Regions from separate parts of the Homo sapiens genome. Here regions 1 and 3 are each linked to region 2. Evidence: promoter capture Hi-C in 16 types of primary human blood cells and fetal thymus (Javierre and others, 2016). All regions are on one chromosome and are shown on one strand. The core of a region is centred on a gene start or on the middle of the fragment in contact, and the rest is flanking DNA. Distances in the headings are between cores, read along the strand shown.

Region 1 (4,617 bases), core at 368-2,867, 260 kb after region 2:
TTGCCTGTAGTATTCTGTAAAGTAACATGCTGTCCAGGTTTGTAGCCTGGTAGCAATAGGCCATACCCCATAGGCTAGGGGTGTAGTAGGCTACACCACCTAGGTTTGTGTAAGTACTCTATGATGTTTGCACAATGATGAAATCACCTAACAACACATTTCTCAGACGTATCCCCATCGTTAAATGATGCATAATTGCACATATATGCTTTGTTTTGATGTGGTGACTTCAAAATGCTTCTTCCAGCCTCCTCTTCTATATATCCTATTTTGTACCTGACTACATTTACCATTAGAAAGTCTCTATTCTTCTTTGCTGAAATTTCACTGTTCTCTGGGCCTGAGTTTTGTTTTGATTCCTGACTATATCTTCATTATGTAACAGGTTTCAGTTAATGAATGCTCTTCTGTGTAATGTAAGCCCTGTTGTATAGTTGATAGCATTTTCTAGCCAGTTCCCAGAACTCCTTGTTTCCAGTGTCAATACTTGGCACCTTTGTCCACTGACACTAATCCCCAGATTAATTTGTAATTAAAGCCCTACTGGTGAGATTTCTGAGAAACGTTGTTGCAAAATTAGGAACCTTTCCTTTATATATATACATTACATAAATTTATAGACATAAAACATTTTAATGCAGTCATTTGCTGCTACTCTTTGACTCATAGTCTTTCGTGATATTTTGAAAAAGCCTTTTGTTAACATGTCTAAATGCAGAATATGTTCTAGAAATATGTAGCACTTAAAGTAAGCCATTAGATTACCTTTTGAAAAGCGGAGCAATTTACTAAGTTTCTACTTCTTCAGATTTGAAATTCTTCATCATTAGCTTGTAGAGGCAAAAGCTTGATGCAGTCATCTCATTTGCTGTAAAGGAAATGAGAAGTCATTTACAGTATATTTCTACTGCTTTGACTTTTATTTCTCAAAAAGACTGTTTTGTTCATATAAAATATTAATGCTTTTGAGGACTACAAAGTCCCTCGATTTAGTTTACATTTACTTTAGCTTATACTTTGTAAAAAATACTCTTCTAAATGCTTTGTCTGTTTTAGCTTACTTATTTCTCATAATACCTCTGTAAAGTATATGCCATTTGCACCATCATTTTACAGATGAGACAACTAAGACATGGAGCAGTTAGATAACTTGCCTGAGATCATGCAGGTGGAGCCAGGATCAAATCCCAGCGAGTCTAGCTCCAGAGTTTGTTCTCTTCTTGACAGATAATTTATCCTCACAAAATTTGAAGCATTTGTAGAGGAATTCCCTATTGTTATAATGTTTAGTTTTTTTGTAGATTGGTTAAAAACTTTGAATTAAATGTTAGCATTAACATCATTTGCTTTTATCACTACTTCTTTGTCTCTTTTTTCTTTTTTTAATCACTACCTCTTCCTCCTCTTTTGAGAAATTCTGCTTCCGTGGCTATGGTCCAAGCTACTTGAGAAGGTGAGGTGGGAGGATCACTTGAGCCTAGGAGGTTGAGATTGCGGTGAGCTGTGATTGTGTCAACTGCATTTCAACCTGGGCAACAGAGCAAGACACTGTCCAAAAAAAAAAAAAAAAATAGTGAAATTTTACTTCGCTCCATTGACTCAGGGAAAAAATGTAATGGTGATAACAAATTCCCTTCATCTCATTAGTGAAAATCCACAATTTTCCATCAATCGATATGATAGTGATAGAGATATTGAGTGTGCTCATTTTCCTACAGACCAGCTGCTTTAACTATTTTAAGCAGACAGAAATGATATTGGTACCATCCATGTCTAATGAAGGCAATACTTTGTAATAAGTTGCAGTAAGTTGTGGCCAGAAGAGGAATGATGACTTCACAGTGTAAACAACTACCTTATTGGGTTTGTGGAAAATGGTGTCATGTAGCAGATGTGGCTTTATCTGGGCTTTGGTTTGGAGTAGTTTTATCTATTCATCTAACCGTCTGTCTCTAAGTGTATAAGTGTGTGTGTGTGTGTGTGTGTGTGTGTATAGTATTGGGTGTGTATATATGTATTTTGTCTACATTGTATTGAAGTAGGTAGTGCAGCATCAAAAGGAAATTGTTGATTTTCAAAATCAGTGAAATGTCACTATTTTTGAGAAAAATGGTCTGTTTACACTCCCTTCTCCTTTTTTTTGTCAGTTCATCTGCAGCGGTGGATGGGGTCATAATCAGTCTATGTTGCAATTCCAAGACCAAGTCAGTAGTATTACAGCTGGCTGATGGCCAGATATTTAAGTACCTTTGGGGTGAGTATCAAGGTGTTAGGAAAGCATGTTATGACTTACATAGATGCTTAGTTCTTAAGAACATGTACTTGTATCTTGTCAGTTCAATATTGATTGTCAGGTCTTTTAACTACCCTGGAAAACCCTAAGCTTTAGAGTGGAATTGGCAAGTGTATTCTACTCCTGTTTCCTCTTTTAATGAACTAACGTACTCTTAAAAAAGTGATTGATGACTATCGCAGGGACAAAAAACCAAACACCGCATGTTCTCACTCATAGGTGGGAACTGAACAGTGAGAACACTTGGACACAGGAAGGAGAACATCACACACCTGGGCCTGTCGTGGGGTGGGGGAGGGTGGAGGGATAGCATTAGGAGATATACCTAATGTAAATGACAAGTTAATGGGTGCAGCACACCAACATGGCACATGTATACATATGTAACAAACCTGCACATTGTGCACATGTACCCTAGAACTTAAAGTATAATAAAAATATATATATAAATAAATAATGCCAGCATTAGAGAAAAAAAGTGATTGAAATTGCATGTTAAGTGTTTTAGCAAATGTTGATGTTGATGGTTTTTTGCAAAGAGCGCATCAGCTATTTGTGAACTAGATCTGTGAATCTTGCAGAGTCACCTTCTCTGGCTATTAAACCATGGAAGAACTCTGGTGGATTTCCTGTTCGGTTTCCTTATCCATGCACCCAGACCGAATTGGCCATGATTGGAGAAGAGGTAGGTGAACACGGAGCAGGAAATTTACTTAAAGTAGTTACCCAGGGACTGATGGCATTAAGTAGAAAGAGCGTGGGCTTTGGAGGTGGACTTGGGTCTCCACTAAATGCCTAGACAATAGTGGGAAATGATCTCACTTTCATAAGCCACACCTTATTCATCTATAAAATGGGAAAATCAGTATCTGTCTATCAGGGTTCAGAAGACTAAATGAGATAATATATGTGATTAGCAACCTTTTATCCCTAGTTGTACAAATCATTCAAAGTTAATTTTATTTAGGAGGGGAAACAGAAATGTGATCTTGAGAATAGTTTTAGTAGATTTTTATTCAACACATACTAGAATGCCTATAATTGTGGTGGATGGTAGAATGCAGTGGCTGGAAAACAAAACCGCTTGACTAATTCCTGCTCTTCTGGAACTTGTGATCTATTAATTTCAATGTAATGATTCCCTTTGTTGGGAGTGTGATGGAAATGGACAGAGTATACTGGTAGAGAATACTGAGATGTTTGAGGGGTAATTTGAGGATGGTGGCTATGAGAATGGGAGTCCTGCATCTGGTGGTCCAGGAAGGCCTCTCGGAGGCAGTGATGTGTGTGCTGAGATGTGAAGAAAAAGAAGGCTCTGTCTCCAGGCAGAAGGAACAACAAACTCCTTGAGCTTAGCAAGAGCTCATCTTATTCAAGGGACTGGATGGAAGTATTGTGGCTGGAGCTCAGTGACAGTCATAGGAGGGAATTTGGGTTCTTTAATTGAACAAAGATTAGAAACTTCTTGTGATTTTTAATAACAGAGTAATGTGTTCTGCTTCATGGTTTGGACAGTGATTCTGGCTGCCCAGAAGAGACTTGATTGGAGAGTGACGAGACTGGAATATGGGATCAACACCGGTTGAGTGGAGTTAGTGAGGGGAAAAAGGAGATGGGTTTGAGATATGTGTAGGAGATGGAGATGTCAGGGCTCACTGATGGATTGGATGGCTTCACATTCCATTTTGCACTGGACCAGCCACGTCTTAGGTATCTATCTTTAGTCCTGATTACAGGAACTTAGGTGTGAAATCATAGGGTGGTAGAACTATGTGATAGAAAAGGTAGGTTTAACTGATTTGAGATAGAATTGCTTGTGATTTCAGTTTTATTTCTTTGCAGGAATGTGTCCTTGGTCTGACTGACAGGTGTCGCTTTTTCATCAATGACATTGAGGTATCAAGGCTTGGTTTGGTGTTGGATCCTTTTCACAGTGTTAGCTCCGAGTAATCTAGCTAGCTTTCACCCATGCCTCTCTGGCCTTCTCTTGCAGGTTGCGTCAAATATCACGTCATTTGCAGTATATGATGAGTTTTTATTGTTGACAACCCATTCCCATACCTGCCAGTGTTTTTGCCTGAGGGATGCTTCATTTAAAAGTAAGTTTTCAATGTATAAAACAGAAATGGTCCCTTCTCCAATGTCTTTTGGAGTCTTGATGACTTTTTGAATTCTTCATTTATTTTGGCTTTTTATCAAGGAGTCCTAGGCTGGAGAAAATCTTTAGAGTTATTTTACTTAGACCCTAATCTCAACATAATATCTCAGTTAAATCATTCTGCACTTTAGTAAAGACATCCAAGGAAGGGAGTTCCTTCCTTAAG
Region 2 (4,371 bases), core at 1,117-3,616:
CCCTGTGAGTCTACATGAGTAGAGAGAGAATTGAAATCCACAGTTTACCTGCAAACTTCATTTTAGGCTGTAGTTGTAAACCGTCCCCAAAATACCCAAATACCCCCATAAAAACAATATAGAAAGCCCACGTGGTGGTGGTTTTTTTTGTTTTGTTTTGTTTTTTTGTTTGTTTTTTGTTTGTTTTTTGAGATGGAGTCTTGCTCTGTCGCCCAGGCTAGAGTGCAGTGGCCTGATCTCGACTCACTGCAAGCTCCGCCTCCCAGGTTCACGCCATTCTCCTGCCTTAGCTTCCCGAGTAGCTGGGACTTCAGGCGCCCGACACCATGCCCGGCTAATTTTTTGTATTTTCAGTAGAGACGGGATTTCACCGTGTTGGCCAGGATGGTGTCGATCTTCTGACCTTGTGATCCGCCCGCCTCGGCCTCCCAAAGTGCTGGAGTTACAGGCGTGAGCCACCGTGCCCGGCTGCCCACGTGTTTTTATATCAGATTAATTTACTCGGAGAAGAATGGCCTGGTTTTCATTTGCCTTCTATTTGGGCACCGTTATTGTTAATTTCAGTAACCAAAATGAAGGGAATAAAAAGGAAAGTAAGAGGTAAAAGCTTGTATTCCCAAACCAGAGAATCTACACTGAAATCAAAAGTCTAATGCTTTATTTTTTTGGCTAAACTTTGGTCCATTCTAAGTTGACCATACCTTCCCTGGTGAACAGAAAGAGAAGAAAAGAAAATAAAGAAATTTTAATTTTTAAGAAAGGTTTAAGGTTTTTGTTTTTGTTTTTGTTTTTTTTTTTTTTTTTGAAGGACTACACTTTAACAGATTTTCAATCTGTTGGATCAGCTTTTTTAGAATGTTATGCATTGCCACGCTATGCTTTTTGGGAAGAAGTCTCTTGAGTTTTTAAAGTAATCATAGTTCATCTTACCTTTTTCAAATAATCTGATCTATTTTTTGTGACAACTGCTATGTTGGGGGACCTAGTGAAGCCCAAGGTTTTCATGAATTACACCTCAATTCAGCCATCAGGATTAATATGTTTAAATTCCAGTTGGACAGCCCACTGTTAGCTGATACCTAATAGAAAATACCTGACTTCTAAGTCCCCCATCATGTCTCCCCTGTTTCAACAGCACTACCCTTATCTCTCAGCCAATCAGGCCATAAAGGGTTAAGATCACTAGTTTCCTTTTGAATATTAACATTTCACAATATTGTGTACATGTGTGCATGCCACTTACAGCACTGAACCCTATTGATCCTTACCTCTATGATCTTCCCTAATCTTCATTGCATCATGTCAATGACTAATCATGAGAGATCAGGCAGTCTGACTTCTAGGTCTGCATTTGGGACCTCTATGCTTTTCTGCCTCCATAATTATTTTGTTTATGCAATAAAATAAAATAATAAAATAGGAAAAGCAGGTTAAAATGCTGGCTCTGCAACACCAGCCTGAAAGGAATTGCGTCCGCCTCTCTGATGGAAAACAGCTTAGCAATTCGAATATATCACCCCAACAACCATCATCAAAAGAGAACCCTGGGACCTGCCATAAAGCAAATGCTTGGTGTGAATCAATGGATGGCTGAGTAAATAGCCAAAAGTGAACTGCAAGCAGCAGGAATGGATTTGAGAAAAATCAACAATTCAGCATGGCCCTCAGATACGGTGTGGGCCTTCCAAGGCCTGCGCGTGCTTGCTGCAGGGAAAGAGAGTAAACCAGAAGCCTAGTTTTGAAGGGGAACAGGTTACCTACTGGCACCAGCCTCTGTTGATTACACACCGCAAGAGCCTGGAGAGGAAGCAGGTGAATCCAGTTTTCTCTGTCTCTAAACACCTCAGTTTACCTAGCTCTATTGTGGGGGTCTTGCAATTTCAAGTTCCTTCTGTGATGATCCAAGAAATAATAGGTCTAGCAAGTGCTTTATGTAAACCAAAAAGTGCCGGCACAAGGTTGAGGAGGCAGCACTGACCAGGTGTGTCCAGGGTAAACTCTCTAGAGGAGCGTTTCATAAATTGAACGTGCATTGGGATCTCCTGGGAATTTTGATGAAATGAACATCCCGCTTCATGGGTCTGGAGTGGGGCCTCAGCGATGCTAACAAGCTTCCAGGTGATGCTGATGCTGCCGGTCCGCGGACCACACTCCGGAGTAGCAAGGGGCCAGAAGGGCCAAATCTGCCTGCGTGGAGGGAAGTCGGGGAGATGGGGAGAATGGAAAGAAGGACGGTAGAAGGGAAGCTGCTAGGAAGGAGAGATCGGTGCGGGGAGGAGGGGGGTTCCAAGAAGAAGGGGGAGGCTGCGGTGCTGGAGCGAGGATGCGCAGACCGAGGCAGGGAGGCGGGGGTGCGGGAGGCTCCGCGGCTGCGCGGGCGCGTGCTGGTGGCCTCGGCGGAGGCTCAGTCCCGGCCCGCGCCCGCGGCGCCCCCGCTGCGGCCCGAGCGGCCTGGCTGCGGGATCTGTGCGCACGGATGGCGCGGCCGCCCCGGCAGCACCCGGGGGTCTGGGCGTCGCTGCTCCTGCTGCTACTGACGGGGCCCGCCGCCTGCGCAGCCAGCCCCGCGGACGACGGTGCGGGCCCGGGGGGCCGGGGACCCCGGGGACGCGCGCGGGGGGACACGGGCGCCGACGAGGCGGTGCCGCGCCACGACTCCTCCTACGGCACCTTCGCGGGGGAGTTCTACGACCTGCGCTACCTGTCGGAGGAGGGTGAGGCTGCGGGAGGGCGAGGGGTTGCGGGAGGGGAGACCGGGGGTGGGGGACCGAGGATCGGGGGAACGAGGAGAGGGGGCGAGGGAGGGGGAGGGGGTCGGAAAAGATGTCCGTGGAGGCAGCTCTTGCAGAGGCGAGGCCAGGATGGGGAGCGCAGTGCCCAGGCCTCCGCCGGCCTGGAGGAAAGGCCCAAAGAGCTGTCAATGCCTGCCGCCCGCTTTACAGATGGGGAGAGTGAGGCTGGGAGAGGGAGGGGTCATCCAAGTTCTGCAAGGCTGTGGATAGGGGTGGGTGCTGAGTCTAAGCTCCCCCAGTTCTTAGATCTGGCTTCCACCTTTGCCGCCTGGGGTTGGGTTATAGGGGAGGAGGCCGCCATCTGGCCAGGGCAGCTAGGGGGAAGCAGAAAAACCCCAACCTAAAGAGAGAGGTTGCCTTATTTCCTCCCTGTCTGTATTGACTTAAATTTGCAGTGACCAGCGCCCACCTCGTAGCATTCTGTTCCTGCTCACTGACCCGTCAGAGCTGGGTCACATCAGCCTCCCCACTCCCATCCCTCCTCTTTTATGACGCCACATATGTTATGGTCCCCTAGTGCGAGCCACCATTGTTGTGGCCTGCTGGGCCCGCAGACTGGGAGTTTGTCAGCCAAGGGCCTCCCTGTAGAGCTGCTTCAACGAGCACAAAAGCCAAGCGGATGGTGGTCAGAAGGAATGGAAACTGGCCTCTTTAAGCAACTTTGGGAAGTAGTGACTTTCCTTTTCTTCTGCTAAGAGGGATATCCAACCATCAAGCTGGGGTTTGAAGTGTTGAGTCCCAGGAGCTCATATCTGTTAGTGGATGTGTCTGTTGTTAGGATTAAGTTCAGCTGTATACAACAAGCAAACATTAATAGCTTCAACAAGATAGAAGTTTCTCTCTTACAGAAAGAAAACTAGAAATAGGTAATCCAGAACTGGTCTGGAGGCTCCTTGGTCACCAGTGTCTCTGGATCCTGCCCTTCTGTTTCTTCACAATTCTTAGCATGTAACTTCATGGTTCAAAATAACTGCTTGAGCTACAGCCATTATGTTCACATTCTAGACAGTGGGAAAAATGAAGCAGGAAGAAGGTCACTGACTACTTTATAAAGGGATTACTCGGAAGTTTCATATAACAATTTTTATACTTCTTTGGCCACAACTTAATCATATGGTTGCACATAGGTACAAAGGAGGATGTAAAATAGAGCCTATTAGCTGAGACATAATATGCCCAGTTCAAAAATCAGAATTATTGTATTAAAGAAGATGGAGAGAATGGATTTGGGGAAATGTATTAAGTAGAGGCTTAACTGCTGAATTAGAGATTTTAACATATAGTGGTTTAAATAAGCTAGTTTATTTTTCTCTCTGATAAGAGTCTGGTTGGTCTGGGGCTGGTGGGATGACTCTGTTCCGCAAGGTCATTCAGGGACCCGGGTTCTTTCCATCTTGTTGCTCTGCCATCCCCCTGAGGCTTTGTCCTCATCAGTACAGTAGAAGCCAGGTTGCATGTCCTTGTTCAAGATTGAGGGAAAGAAAAAGAGAAGTTCAGGGCAAGTAGTTACCTTTTAGGCTGGCTGCCCACATTACTGCTGTTCACATTCCTTTGGCAAAAACATAGTTACAATGACCTA
Region 3 (4,621 bases), core at 1,514-4,013, 300 kb after region 2:
GATGACAAAGATGAAGACCTTTATGATGATCCACTTCCATTTAATGAATAGTAAATATTGTTTTCTTTATGATTTTCTTAATATTTTCTTTTCTCTAGCTTACTTTATTGTAGGAATGTAGTATATAATACATATAACATACAAAACATTTGTTAACTGACTTTTTATGCTGCCAATACACTGCCGAACAACAGTAAGCTATTGGTACTTGAGTTTTGGAGATTCAGAAGTTAAACATGGGGCCAGGTGTGGTGGCTCACACCTGTAATCCCAGCACTTTGGGAGGCTGAGGTGGGTGGAACGAGACCAGGAGTTTTGAGAGTAGCCTGGGCAGCATGGTGAAACCTTGTCTCTACAGAAATTAGCCAGGTATGGTGGTGTACACTTGTAGTCCCAGCTACTTGGGAGGCTGAGGCAGGAGAATCGCTTGAACCCAGGGGGTCGAGGCTGCAGTGAGTCATGATCGTGCCACTGCACTCCAACCTGGGCAACAAAATGAGACCCTGTCTCAAAAAAAGAAAAAAAAAAGGTATATGCAGATTTTTGACTGTGCAGGGGGGTCCGCACCCATAACCCTACATTCAAGGATCAACTGTAATTTTTCATGCCTGCATGGCTCATATGTACAGATTTACTGCTGGAAGTTTATCATAAATAATGCTGAAAAAGAAAATCCTTATATATACATATTTTCTCCTATCTCTGCTTGCAGTATATGATTCCTGGTTAGAAAAGAAACTTAACAAATCTAAGTGAAAGAGTGCCTGGGAGTTTTAGGTTACAATGACAGAATCTTTTCCTAACCCTCTCTCTCCATTCACTTTTTTTAAAGCAGGGGCATCTTTATTGATCAACATGTTTGTCGAAGTTTCATCATAAAGTAGTTCCTGTCCATTAACTTCACTTACTGAATATGTGCTATCACATTTTGCTATTCCTTAAAAATTGAGCTAGACTTTACATATAGTGAAATGCAGAGATTTCAGGTGTACAATTTGATGAGTTTTAATAAATGTATACAGCCATGTGACTGCTGCCACCACCCCTCCCACCAGTTTGAAATACAGAACATTCTTCCACTTTGAATCACTGGGTGAGCATGCCTGAGGTTGAAATGCAGTCCCTCCTCTCAGGGCGGGGCCTCCAGGTTGTGTTTGCTCTGACCTGGAGGTTGCAGGGGTAGCAGACACATGAACTCTGGCTCTGATGGTCTTATTGCTGCAAACTCCACCTGCCTAGTTTGTTTAGTTTAGAGTTACTGCCTCAGCGCCCTCCAACAAGAGTATGTCTGTCACAATTTCCCTTCCTTTCTTGCTTTTAGATGCTGAGCTTTTTATACCACCAAAGATCAACAGAAGAACCCAGTGGAAGCTGAGCCTGCTAGACTGAGTGACTGCAGTTAGGAGGGATCCGACAGAGAAGACCATTTCCACTCATTCCTGTTGTCCTACCACCCCTTGCTCTTTGAGGGCTGGCTATTGAGAACTGGAAAGAGTAAAATGATAACTTACCTTAGCATTGCCAAGAACTTCAGCAGACAACAAGCAATTCTATTTATTTTATGTTGTGTATACATCTTGATCATTAGCAAGACATTAAGCTTTAACCATTATGGCACCATTTTGTGAGAATGATTGTTCTTTCACTTGGGCTGTTTGAGAGCATAATTATGGTAATCATGAGATTAATGTTTCATGATTTCTACCTCCAAAGTGTGAAGACAAGTAAAACAATGTTTCTAAATTGTCTTATTTTGTTGGCGGAGAAGATTACAATGGCTATTAGTGCTACATTTGGTCAAATGTAATCACTTAAATAGCTTCTTGTCACCTTAAACTAAAGCAGAATAAAAAGTATCCTTTGAAATTATAAGCCCTCCTTTGCTGACAGCTATTATTTTGTAACATCTTACCAGGTCATGTGCTTTCAGTTATAACTGGGCTGAGCCTCCTATAATTACAATGTCTATAGGGACTGTTTTACTGCCTGTGTATTTTCTGCTAGAGAGTTAGCAATGTTAGAGCTAGAACAGATTAGAATTTCTAAACAGTATCATGCACAGTTGGTGTGAGTGATCAGTGTGCATTGTATGGCATGCATGGTTGTGAATTATTCTCTGTTCTCCAAATACTGTTTCTTTAACTCAGATATTTTTGTTAGTGTCTAGGCCACTTCATTTATTTTTCGTCATGGTACTTTACTGACTTCTCTTTATTCAATTCTCCACGCCCTCACCAAAAAAAACTGTCTCAAAATGAGAATATTTTATTTTCATGGTGAGTCTAGAAAACGCCCACTTCATTCTGATTAAAAATTCTTCCATGTTTTAAATATCAGAACCAGACCTTTCTTACTGTGTATCTTAGCCCATTTGTGTCTCTATAACAACAACCAGCTTTCAAAGGAACTAATAGAGTGAAAACTCACTCATTACCACGAGGATGGCACAAGCGATTCACGTAGGATCTGCCCCTGTGACCAAAACACCTCCCATTGGGCCCCACTTCCAACACTGGTGATCACATTTCAACATGAGGTTTAGGGAAACAAATGCCTAAACTACAGCACTGTACATAAACTAACAGGAAATGCTGCTTTTGATCCTCAAAGAAGTGATATAGCCAAAATTGTAATTTAAGAAGCCTTTCCCAGTATAGCAAGATGTTAACTATAGAATCAATCTAGGAGTATTCACTGTAAAATTCAACTTTTCTGTATGTTTGAACATTTTCACAATCTCATAGGAGTTTTTAAAAAGAAGAGAAAGAAGATATACTTTGCTTTGGAGAAATCTACTTTTTGACTTACATGGGTTTGCTGTAATTAAGTGCCCAATATTGAAAGGCTGCAAGTACTTTGTAATCACTCTTTGGCATGGGTAAATAAGCATGGTAACTTATATTGAAATATAGTGCTCTTGCTTTGGATAACTGTAAAGGGACCCATGCTGATAGACTGGAAATAGAAGTAAATGTGTTTATTGATAATGGTGTGAATTTTCCTGGACATTCAGTTTCCTTAAATAATGTATTGAAGCAGCAAGAAATAATTTGTTTGAATGCAAATTACTATCAATTACTGTTTCTCTCATCTGAGCAGGATTGGATTTTGTTCCTTTTTAGAAGAAGCAGGCAGGAGGAGACCTTCCAAATTGAGGCAAAGCCAAGAATTGAATATTCATGGGGGAAAATTGAGTGTATGAGAAAAGGAGGAAACTCCTCTGAGTGATGAATGCTTAATTTGGGGGAAAGAGTCTGTCAAGTTTTAGAAAAGAGTACATAAATTTGGATCCTGTCCCAAAGCAAGTTCATGCTGCAATAAGCTAAAACCTTCACTTTTCTTGGTTCCATTGAGTCAGATAGCTTTGCTCAGATGCTCTAAACTTCAAGAAGGAACTTGCAGAAGACTGTCTTCTTCGGTCAAAGTGCATTTTAAATTTATGCTTTTGAAAAAACTGAGGCCGGGTGCGGTGGATCACACCTGTAATCCCAGCACTTTGGGAGGCTGAGGTGTTTGAGACCAGCCTAGCCAACATGGTGAAATCTCACCTTTACTAAAAATAGAAAAAAAATTAGGCGGTGTGGTGGTGGGCACCTGTGATCCCAGCTACTTGGGAGGCTGAGGCAGGAGAATCACTTGAACCTGGGAAGGTGGAGGTTGCAGTGAGCCAAGATCGTGCCACTGTACATCAGCCTGGACAAGAACAAGACTCTGTCTCAAAAAAACAAAACAAAACAAAACAAAACTTAGGAGCAATTTTTATATGCCTTTATGGATGTAGCTTGGTGCAATTTCTTAGCCCTGCTGCATATTTTAAATTAAATTTAATTATATATGCATGTATATATACATACACATTTGAGAGATTTGTCATAGCAATAGCTGAAGTGGGTGTTTTTAAAAATAAGTAAAACTGATGAAGCTTGGTAACTTAAGGTGACTGCAAATTTGAGAAGCAAAATTAGATTTGTTCTTCCTCTTGTGCTGGTTATTGTACTCCCATATTCTCTAGAAGCACCGCCTGGACAAGCCCTGGGGAGTCTTTGGCTGTTGTTTCTTGTTTGTTGTATTTATTAGTAACTGGGTGCAAATAAACATCTTAGGAGCTAGGTAGCTGTACATATTCACGAGGCTGGAGATAAGACAAAGCTAATTTGGTAACATTTGGCAGTGCTGAAGGCCTGCTTTGGATTCTCGTGTTTCTGTGCTCTCTGTGCTCCCTGAGCCCTTGCCTGTGCCTGCAGTGGGCTGCTCCACCACTATTCTTACTGGCTCTACAGTCCCAGGACATTTAGGAACAACAGTTGTCCTCCTGGTTATAAAGGAAAGAACAAGGCTTTGGGCCATGTGTCCAACCATCTTAGCAGTGTTGGACAAAGTCACTTAATCTCACTGAGCCTTGCTTTCCTTCAGTCTTGTGTGTGCCCATCAAGCTAAGCAGAGTTTCTCAATGGCACTGTTGTCATTTTGGTTCATGTCATTCTTTCTTTGGGTGTTGGGAGGTGCTTCCCTGCACATTGTAAGATGTTTAACGACTTCCCTCATCTCTAACCCCTAGATGCCAGTAGTACACACTCCCACCCCTGTTATGACAACCACAAATATCTTTAGACATTGTTAA

What was found. Contacts are between HindIII fragments. The CHiCAGO score rates a contact against its expected background, and 5 or more counts as called.
Region 1: a fragment that was not itself captured here is called in contact with the fragment with the promoter of FRRS1L in region 2 in 2 of 17 cell types (activated CD4 T cells and naive CD4 T cells); the score reaches 5.6 in activated CD4 T cells.
Region 3: a fragment that was not itself captured here is called in contact with the fragment with the promoter of FRRS1L in region 2 in 4 of 17 cell types (non-activated CD4 T cells, naive CD8 T cells, naive CD4 T cells and 1 more); the score reaches 6.0 in non-activated CD4 T cells.

The regions. Positions count from the first base shown.
Region 1 is chr9:108,901,200-108,905,816 of GRCh38, reverse strand. It overlaps ELP1 (elongator acetyltransferase complex subunit 1), which reads left to right. Exons shown (of 37, transcript NM_003640.5): 15 at 2,148-2,254; 16 at 2,875-2,978; 17 at 4,136-4,189; 18 at 4,287-4,392. Among named protein-coding and RNA genes, the nearest start is that of ELP1, 31 kb to the left of the region's middle. The HindIII fragment of the contact is 1,537 bases long and covers 849-2,385 here.
Region 2 is chr9:109,165,244-109,169,614 of GRCh38, reverse strand. FRRS1L (ferric chelate reductase 1 like) reads left to right here and starts at 2,366. Exons shown (of 5, transcript NM_014334.4): 1 at 2,366-2,714. The coding sequence starts at 2,477. The HindIII fragment of the contact is 4,411 bases long and covers 2,114-4,371 here.
Region 3 is chr9:108,865,883-108,870,503 of GRCh38, reverse strand. It overlaps ELP1 (elongator acetyltransferase complex subunit 1), which reads left to right. Exons shown (of 37, transcript NM_003640.5): 37 at 1,322-2,987. The coding sequence ends at 1,389. Among named protein-coding and RNA genes, the nearest start is that of ACTL7A, 5.9 kb to the right of the region's middle. The HindIII fragment of the contact is 2,322 bases long and covers 1,603-3,924 here.